2 separate regions of the Homo sapiens genome follow, and region 2 is linked to region 1. The links are contacts of gene promoters, found by promoter capture Hi-C in blood cells and fetal thymus (Javierre and others, 2016). All regions are on one chromosome and are shown on one strand. The core of a region is centred on a gene start or on the middle of the fragment in contact, and the rest is flanking DNA. Distances in the headings are between cores, read along the strand shown. Region 1 holds the start of GMNN (geminin DNA replication inhibitor). Region 2 overlaps TRIM38 (tripartite motif containing 38).

Region 1 (5,088 bases), core at 1,787-4,286:
CAAATCAAATAGGTTAGATGGTAATGAATATGGTATACTCTAGAAAAATGTGTAATATAATGCAAAACATGTCTGTGGTCAAAGACTCTTAATTCTGAAGATATACACAATGGATTTTAATAACATTTCATGAAATATAAGAGTAGAAACAAAGCAGTAATAATCTCATACATAGAAAATCCTAAAGATACTTCTGGAATCTTCACAGAGAAAATACAAAAAGAAAAGAAAATCCTGAAGAATCTACTAAAAAACAATTAGAACTATTAAGTTCAGCAAGGTTTCAGGACACAAAATCAAGACACAAAAGTCAATTATTTTCCTATACAGTAGCAATGACCAAATGAGAATGAAATTAAGGAAACAATTCCATTCACAGTAACCTCAAAAAGAATACTTAGGAAAAAATTTAACATAAATAGTGTAAAATTCATGCTCTGAAAACTACAAAATACTGTTGAAAGACCAAAATAAGAGAGACAACCCATATTCTTGGGTCAGACTTAATATTCAACCGTAATTAGTTTTTTAAAAATGTTCTCTATTGTTACTCATCCTCTGACTAACTCAAGGCTTACAGAAATTATAGCCAGGCTAAATTTGGATAAATTATGTCAAAATACTTTTAGCCCCATGCTTTCTACAAAAAAAAATTAAAGTTATTCAATCACATACCTTTATATTCTCTTTGATTTCTTCTTGTTTCTGCTTCATACTGGGATTCATTATGTAGATGGTGAAGCACAGAAGACTAGTAATTAAAAAACAATATGGTTTGCACCCCCGAAGGTGGAGTCTAGGTTTAAAATACTTACAATCATAAAAATTATACTATTGTACAGTAGAACTATTATTTTTTCTCTCTTAATCCAAACTCAGCCCTGTCAATGACTAAGGTGACTAAAGTTAATGACTCTTGATATCTATATTTTACATATATACACACATAATAATTATAGCTGAAAAAATGAAATTAATGTATTTTAAACCAATTTCTAAAACTGGTTTAAAATTTCTAAACATATTGTCCTGGATTAAATAGTCACCAGAAAAAGCAAAATAAACAGATACTAGGGTATGCCCAGGTCCATCCTAAAGAGCAGCATCTTAACTTTCCTGATTCAAAGACAGATTTAAGGTATAATAAACTGGGCTCTGACAATAACTTAACACAGACTTAATATCTGGTCAAATGAGATCATGCATTTACATTTGTAGGAAATGTTTAACCAGTAACATGAACTGAAGGACTAACAAGCAAGAAAGAGGGAAAAGGTAGAAAGGGATCTATGTAATGCGGTTGACTAGACCACTGGGCCAAACTCAGCATCTGAACTGCTGCTCCACTGCCCACTGCCCACTGCCCACTACCCATTGGCCCCTGCCGTGTCTGCGCCTGTGCCTCGTCGATAGATGTCCCTAATTTTTGTGGCCATGCCTTTACTCAGTGCAGTGGCTTCTAACATTAATACATTTTACCTTGTGTCCTGGCGCGTGCACACACATGTGCAAACAAAAAAGCTTAGGAAAGGCCGGGCGTGGTGGCTCACATCTGTAATCCCAGCACTTTGGGAGGTCGAGGCAGGCGGATCACCTGCATGATCACCAAAGTGCTGGAAGGTCGAGGCAAGCGGATCACCTGAGGTCAGAAGTTCGAAACCAGCCTGGCCAATATGGTGAAACTCCATCTCTACCAAAAATACAAAAATTAGCCGGACGTGGTGGTGCTCGTCTGTAGTCCCAGCTACTCGGGAGGCTGAGGCAGGAGTATCGCTTGAACCCGACAGGTGGAGGTGGCAGTGAGCCGAGATCCTGCCACTGCACTCCAGCCTGGGCAACAGAGCGAGACTCCGTCTCAAAAAAAAAAAAAGCTTAGAAAACAAAACAATCTAATTTGTGCGGGCATCCTGCTATTTTCTACTCTATTTCATGTTAAGAAAATGGTGTTCGGGCCCCAGTAAACAGACCCTACGCAATGTTCTTCAAACTGCGGGTCGCGGGCCGTGATCTCGAAATTAGTGAGTCATGAGCAACACTGCTTAGAAAAATGCAACTGAACAGAATGGAATTGAAGAGACGAGAAACATTGCTTCCATCACGTCTCATTTGGTTAGATAGCTGTGTCCTAGGTTGCGACGTAAAACGTACCTTAGTGTGAAAAAAGCTGAAAGCCACTTAGCATTCTAATCCTTCACAAGTTTCCCACGCCTGTCAGCGACCTTGCAACCCTTACTTGTTATTCTCCAGTTCCTTTAATAGCTAGATTAAAAACCCTGGCACAGGACAGGGTCCATGCGAAACCCGTATCAACAACGCCAGTATCCGTTTAATGGGAGACGCAGAATTCAGCCACCTCTTTCCATGAGCCAAATTTGCAGATCCCTCAGATCAGGACCAGCCACTTAACTGCCAAGAGGATGGATGCTTCGCCTCATCCCCACAGCTGGCAAGCCCAGGCTGAGTCCCTTACCCGCGTTGCAGTCCCCAAGCCCGGACCCAGCCAACTTGTCCCGGAGGCCCAGCGCCAGGCTAGGGGGCGGGCAGTGTGGCCCCGCGCGTCCGAGCCTACCAACCGCGGCGCGCGCCTCGGGAACTGCGCCAGCCAGCCAATAGGAAGCGCGGAAGTGAGAGCGCGCCAAAACCGACCCAGCCAATGGGGCAGTCCCTCGACTCACCTCCCAACCCCGCCCCGGCTCCCGCGACCGTTCAACAACCCCTTCGCCCTTACCCAGGCCGCGGCCCTGCAGCTGTCAAAGTAGGACGCGGCTTCAGAGGTTGGCCGGAGGGAAAGCGAGTCGTCTAGAGGCTGTGCGCCTTGCGCCCCTGCGTACCCACTTCCTGCCGCCTCTTGCCCACTTACTGGGTGGAGACGCTCAATCCTCGTAGCGAACGCACGTAGCTATGGCTGCAGCACCTCGCAAAAGGCCACAGCTCACCTACGCTGATCCCCACGGTCGCTGGAGTGCCCGGCGCGCTCTGCAGTAAAGCCCTGCTAACTCCGCTCGCCCGCTCCGAACAACCACGTGACCAACTGACGCAGACGAGGGGCGGGGCCTCTGGATCCCGCGAATCGCCTCTTCCCTCGGCCCCGCCCCTTCCTGCGCCTGCGCGGTCAACGGTAGCGAGTACTTGAGGACCGTGGGGGTTTTCTGCGGGCTGGGAGGCCTGTGCCCTTTGACCCTCCCCTCCGACCCTGCTCTTGGAACTTCCTTAAAATGCAAAGTTTTAGCCCTTTACGAAAGGGAGAAAGATTTGCCTCCATTAGTCGTTAGCACCAGAAGAACAAAATATTGTATGTGCATATATATTAATATGTAGTACACGACATATATTTGTGTAAAGCCCTGGCTCCACGGACTCGTAGTTGTATTAGGGGCTTTTATATTTTGGCTTTTTGTGTTTTGACTATGGTGTGGTGCGGTAGGAATTGTTCAGGAGACAACCGATTATCAGTTAATCCTGCAGCTATTCATTGAGCGCCTTATACGTGCCAATTACTACTGTTCTAGGCACTGAAATTACAACTGCTGTTGCAATTTGAAGGAGCAGAAACACCTTGGTAATAATTACGTCTAGCCTTTTCCTTCTTTTTTTTTTTTTTAATTGAAACGGAGTCTCGCTCTGTCACCCAGGCTGGAGTGCAGTGGCGCGATCTCGGCTCACTGCAAGCTCCGCCTCCCGGGTTCAAGCGATTCTCCTGCCTCAGCCTCCCGAGTAGCTGGGACTACAGACAAAGGGAGACCCTGTCTCAAAAAAAAATTAATTTTAAAATATTTTAAAAATAAAAAGCAGAAGGAAGGCGTTATCGAGTACAAATAAGGGACATATTACCAAATGCAATGTATGGATCTCGTCTGAACTAAACACTGTATTTAAAAAAATACCCAAGGGAAATTTGAACACTGACTGAATATTTTGGGATGGTAAGATATGAGTTGTTTAAGGTTACCTGATGAGCAATGGGTTAAAAAAAGAGATTAGTTGTAATGACAATATTGTGGGTTTTATTGTAATAGCTTCTACCTATAAATGGTAATTACAGATGAAATTTTATACCATATATTTTATTTGAAATAATTATTGAGAGAAGCAAGGGAAAAGGTATAAATCAAGCTTTCTCAGTATGGGCTCTATTGACATTTTAGACTGGGCAAATTGTTCGTGGTGGGGGCTGTCCTGGGCATTGTATGCTGTTTAGCAGTATCCCTGGCCTCTACCCTCTAGCTACCAGGAGTACATCCCAATTGTGAAGACCAAAAATGTCTGCAGACCTTGTCAGATAACCTTCCGCAGGGCAAAATCATCCCCAGTTGAGAACCACTGGTGCGAATAAAACAGTATTGGCCTTGTGTTGATAACTGCTGAGGCTAGTATGGATGAGTACATGAAGATTTTTTATTCACTCCCTCTACTTTTATATCTGTTTGGGATTTTCAATAATAATTTTTTTTTTTGAGACGGAGTCTTGCACTGTCACCAGGGCTGGAGTGCAATGGTGCAACCTCGGCTTACTGCAACCTCTGCCCCCCCCGGGTTCAAGCGATTCTCCTGCCTCAGCCTCCCAAGTAGCTGGGATTACAGGTGCCCGCCACCACACCCAGCTAATTTTTTGTAGTTTTAGTAGAGACAGGGTTTCACTATGTTGGCCAGGCTGGTCTTGAACTCCTGATCGTGTGATCTGCCCACCTTGGCCTCCCAAAGTGCTGGGATTACAGGCGTGAACCACTGCACCTGGCCAATAATAAAATTTTTAAAATATTAATTTAAAAAGGATTAAATGATGGGATAAGGAGGTAGAAATACTGGAAAATGTTTAGCCATAAAAATTTCAGCAACCACTAGGCACCATGGCTCATGCCTGTAATCCCAGCACTTTGGGAGGCTGAGGCTGGCGGATCACCCTGAGGTCAGGAGTTCAAGACCAACCTGGCCAACATGGTGAAACCCTGTCTCTACTAAAAATACAAAAATTATCCAGGCATGGTGGCATGCGTCTGTAATCCCAGCTACTCAGGAGGCAGAGGCAGGAGAATAGCTTGAACCCAGGTGGTGGAGGTTGCAGTAAGCCAAGATCACACTACCACAATC
Region 2 (5,088 bases), core at 1,781-4,280, 1.2 Mb before region 1:
TCTCTTCTTTTTTTTTTTGAGATGGAGTCTTACTCTGTCGCTCAAGCTGGAGTGCAGTGGCACAATCTCAGCTCACTGCAACCTCTGCCTTCTGGGTTCAAGCAATTCTGCCTAAGCCTCCAGAGTAGCTAGGACTGCAAGTGCACACCACCACACCTGGCTAATTTTTGTATTTTTAGTAGAGATAGGGTTTCACAATGCTGGCCAGGCTGGTCTCAAACTCCTGCCCTCAAGTGATCCTCCTGCCTCGGCCTCCCAATGTGCTGGGATTACAGGCGTAAGCCACTGTACCCGGCCTCCTCCTTTAATAGACAGGGTCTAGCTCTGTTGCCCAGGCTGGGTACAGTGGCGTGATCATAGCTTACTGCAGCCTCGAACTCCTGGGCTCAGGAGATCCTCCTGCCCTAGTCTCCCCAGTAGCTGGAACTACAGGCATAGCACACGGGGCTAATAAAATTAATTAGGTGATAAAATTCACTGCCCACTGATGACTAAGCTCTTTGGACATAAAAGACACAGACCTTGAAGGAAAATGTGTCTACTTAATTTTGAAACCCTATTTATCAAAAAACAGGATGAAAATGCAAAATGCCATCCACATGCCAGAAGATATCAGCTATAATAAGTTCCCATAAATCAATAAGGAAAAGAACCCAATAAAAATTATTAAACCACAGTAAATCATGGGTAAATCACAGAGGCCTGAAGGGCTAATGGACATACAAAAAGAATCTCAATCTCACTAGTGAAATCAGAAAAGCACAAATTAAGTACACAATTAGGTACCATTTTAAATCTGTAAGACTGTCAAAATCATAAATTATATAAGTAAAGACTCAGGGAGTTTTGGAGGAGTGAGAGCTCTTATATTGCTTGTGGGGTAGAATTGGAACAATTTCAAGATCTGTAGTATCTGGTAAAATTATGATATGCATCCCTCACACCAGCATGTCACTCCAAGGTATCTCCCTGGAGGGAACATTTACGGGACACAAGGAAGCATGGATAAGAATGTTCACAGTAGTATTGTCTGCAACAGCAACAACAACAAAAAAACCCAACTACACACAACTTCAATGCCCAGTCCACAAGGCAATGGATTAAATAAACTTCAGGCCGGAGATGGTGGTTCATGCCTGTAATCCCAACACTTTAGAAGGCCGAGGCGAGAGGACTGCTTGAGCCCAGGAGTTCAAGACCAGCCTGAACAAAATAAAGAGATAGTGTTTCTACAAAAAATTTTTAAAAAATTAGCCAGACGTGGCAGTGCTTGCCTGTGGTCCCAGCTACTGGGGAAGCTGACGTGGGAGGATTGCTTAAGCCCAGGAATTTAAGGCTGCAGGGAGCCATGATGGGGCCATTGCACTCCAGCCTGGGTGACAGAGTGAGACCCTGTCTAAAAGAGATAAGTAAATAACAACTTTGCATTTTCTGCCACATTGCAAAATGGTGAGAGAGTGGTTTCTAGACTCTAGACTCTTTCTATGACTACCTTCTAGTTATGAGATCCTACAACACTCACCTAACCTCTCTGTGTCATATTTCCTCCTCTATAAAGCAAAAATGCCCCATATAGAGAGGACTGTGATATAAAACAAGAACCAAGAAAAGTAAAGCTTTTCTAATCTGTCACAGACTAAAGAGTGCTCAGTATATGTGAGTCATTATTCCTGGTGCTGGTAGGAGTGTATGTTACAACTTTGAGTCAAGTAATATGGTACCATATATTAAGATTAACAACAACCTCGGCAATCCCAGTTTGGGGTATGTTCCCAAAAGAAATGAAAGCACCAGGATATAAGGATGCATGGACTAGAAAGTTATTGTAGCAACATTGTAATAACTAAGTTCTAAAAACAGCCTGAAGCTCCATCAGTAGGGATATGGTTACATATATTTATTATATTCTTATGGAATATTAGACATAAAAAGTAACGAGTAACATAGAAGAGACAGTGTATATATGTTACGTTTGTACAAACTTAGGGAAAGATATAGATCACCCTACCTAGAGAAGTCAGATTGGAGACGGGTGGGAAAAACCTTGAACTTTCTCCTTATATCCTTTATATTGTTTGACTGATTAAAATGTATTTGTTGCATCTGCTTGAAGGCAATGTAAAATAAAATAAACATACATTTAAAAATAAAAATAAAATTTATTCCTATCACTTTTGTAATAAAGCTGGGCACAGTGACTAACACTTGTAATCCTAGCACTTTGGGAGGCAGAGACAGGCAGATCACCTGAGGTCAGGGGTTTGAGACCAGCCTGGCCAACATTGTGAAACCCCATCTCTACTAAAAATACAAAAATCAGCCAGGCATAGTGGTGCGTACCTGTAATCCCACGCTACCCGGGAGGCTGAGGCGCTGGAACCCAGGAGGCAGAGGCTGCAGTGAGCTGAGATTGCGGCACTGCAAGCCAGCCTGGGTAACAGCGAGACTCCATCTCAAAAAAAAATTTGAAAAAAGAAAAATTTTAATAAACAGTGTTTAAGAGGGGAGAAATATTTAGTTAAAAGATAAGCCCATTTAAGAAATAGTTTCACTTGACCCGGAAGGCGGAGCTTGCAGTGAGCCGAGATCGCACCACTGCACTCCAGCCTGGGCGACAGAGCGAGACTCTGTCTCAAAAAAAAAAAAAAAGAAAGAAAGAAAGAAAGAAATAGTTTCACTTGAACCATATTATGATTCCTTCTGTAAAAGATGAGAGTAGGCAAATTGACTCAGTGAAATCCCAGCAAAACTTACACAAAGTCTTGTTCTTCCTTCCTGTCATCTGTATAGGATGAAATACAGAGTGCTTTTGGGTTTTGTTGTTGTTTGTTGTTGTGTATTTGAGGGGAACACAGGTCTATAATTCCTTTTCTGAAATCCCTGGAACAAAATGGGCTTTGCCATTCAAATTAGTTTAGAAGTTATAAAGGCAAAAAAATGCATATACTCTAAAGTTCAACCCCATCATGGCCTAAGGCAGAGCCCTGTAATCAAATTCATCAATATATCTGCAGCAAAACATTTATTCAAATTAAGTGGGATAAATAAAGACTTTTAAATAGTCTCATCTCAGTGCCGTTCAGGGTTGGCCACTGTGGAAGACAGACTCAAGGGTGGCCTTCTATGATTCCTGCCTCTTGGTGTTCACACCCTCGTAAAATTCCTTGTCTTTGAGTGTGAGCAGGGCTTATGAATTGCTTCTGACCAATAGGATATGGCAAAGATGATGGGATATAATTTCTATGATTACGTTTCATTATGTAAGACTCCATCTTGCTGGCAGATTTTCTCTAAAGAGTCTGTCTCCTGAGCTCTCTCTGAAGAAATAACTGGCCATGTTAGAAGCCCATGTGCAAAGAGCTGAGGGGTGGCCTGTAGAAGCTGTGGGCAACCTCCAGCCAACAGCCAGAAATAACCAGGGCCAAAGTCCTGCAACCATCAGGAAAGAAATTCTGCCTGCTACCTCAGTGAGCTTGGAAGTGGATTCTTCCTTAGCCTAGCCTCCAGATAAGAACACAGCCTGACCAACACCTTAACTGCAGCCTTATCAGACCCTAAGCAGCAGGCCCAACTAAGCTGTGCCCAGATTCCTGAACCACAAAAATTGAGATAACATATCAGTGTTGTATTAAGGTTCTAAATTATGGTAATTTGTTTGTACTAATAGATAACTAATATAACCACCAAATCATTTCAGGTTAGGCCAGATTTTTGTAGCCAAATGAATCATGATAAAACTTTCCATTTTCAGGGGTTTTTTTGATTTTGTACTTACGGATACAAATTTGTGAAAGTATAGTCAGCACTGATTTAAAAAATCAAGGGAGCAGGAAACTCAGTAAATGGTTCTAACATTTTGGAATCTGTAAATTGGTTGTAACATTTGTCATCTGTGTTATCTAAGTCAAGTTCCTAAAATATGTGAATGATAGGTTATCATACTCACCTACTTTTCTTGCATTGCTCTAAGAGTTGGCTGAGCTATTGATAATAAACACTATGATCAGATCTAATACCATGATGTGCTATTATGATCATGTGTCAGTCACAGGGCTAAGCACTTTGTACATGTTGATGCATTTAATTTTGATGATAACTCAATGAAGTAGGAGCTGTTAATATTTTCATTTTTCAGAGGGGGAAACCAAGTCACTTGGAGTAACATGGCTAATAAGTGAAAGAATAAGAATTTGAAAGGTTTGCACAGATAACCAGAATGCAATGCTCATCACATTCACTGAGCAGTGAATCATACTAACTAGAGAAAGTATGAAAGCTCTACTGAAATTAACTAAACAACCTCTCTGGCTGTGAGCCTGCCAAGGGACAGGTGGTAAACTTGGTTACTGCATAAGGCCCCTTCTATCCACAGTATTCAGGAATTCTTTAGTGAACATACCTTGATGACTCCTTAACATTTTCTTCACATCGAAGTAAAGCTTGGAAACATTGCACATAGTATGAAGTTCCAAGGAGACAGCCTCTGATGTTTCCAGCTTCACAGCCCAACTCCTAGAATAAGCAGAGGCGAGAGATTTCTTCAGAGGTGCATTCCATTCATTTCTATATACGCACACCCCTCCCCTCCTGCATTCAAACAGGACTTACCTGCTCAAAGTGTCATTCACATTCTATAAAGAAACAAAAAGAAAAGGTGAGCATGGGAACATCGGTATTTCATGGGGCTTGTCATGCAGGGCTATTCTTCTTTGCTTTACCCGAAGAAGTAAAGAGAGTTACCCTAGTCTTAGTCTTAGATATTGATGGATACTCAAACAAAGTAATTCCCACCAGTCTTAGGTATTGATGGATACCCAGATGGAATAATTCCTACCAGCTTCTGGGAGATTCAGCATGGCAGGATGTTTATCAACATTTGCATCTATTCTCATCCTTGCTGAAGTCTGAGGGCCAGGAGCTTTGTCCATGCTCCCTCTGTAAGGACTAGCTTTTGGTGATCGGATTTCCTTCACAGTGAGCCCAGATTAGAGAACACTTATCATAAAGGTCCTTAGTGGTGAATCTGTGCACAGCCCTGAGACTGGGCCACTGCCACTAAGATGGTGGTAGCAGGTATCACACAGTGGT

The links. Contacts are between HindIII fragments. The CHiCAGO score rates a contact against its expected background, and 5 or more counts as called.
Region 2: a fragment that was not itself captured here is called in contact with the fragment with the promoter of GMNN in region 1 in 1 of 17 cell types (monocytes); the score reaches 5.9 in monocytes.

What each region holds. Positions count from the first base shown.
Region 1 is chr6:24,772,885-24,777,972 of GRCh38, reverse strand. It overlaps GMNN (geminin DNA replication inhibitor), which reads right to left and starts at 3,036. Exons shown (of 7, transcript NM_015895.5): 1 at 2,729-3,036; 2 at 676-751. The coding sequence starts at 726. RefSeq lists an enhancer at 2,042-2,121. The HindIII fragment of the contact is 2,242 bases long and covers 1,874-4,115 here.
Region 2 is chr6:25,972,597-25,977,684 of GRCh38, reverse strand. TRIM38 (tripartite motif containing 38) reads right to left here. Exons shown (of 8, transcript NM_006355.5): 6 at 4,609-4,631; 7 at 4,400-4,512. Among named protein-coding and RNA genes, the nearest start is that of TRIM38, 12 kb to the right of the region's middle. The HindIII fragment of the contact is 2,823 bases long and covers 1,619-4,441 here.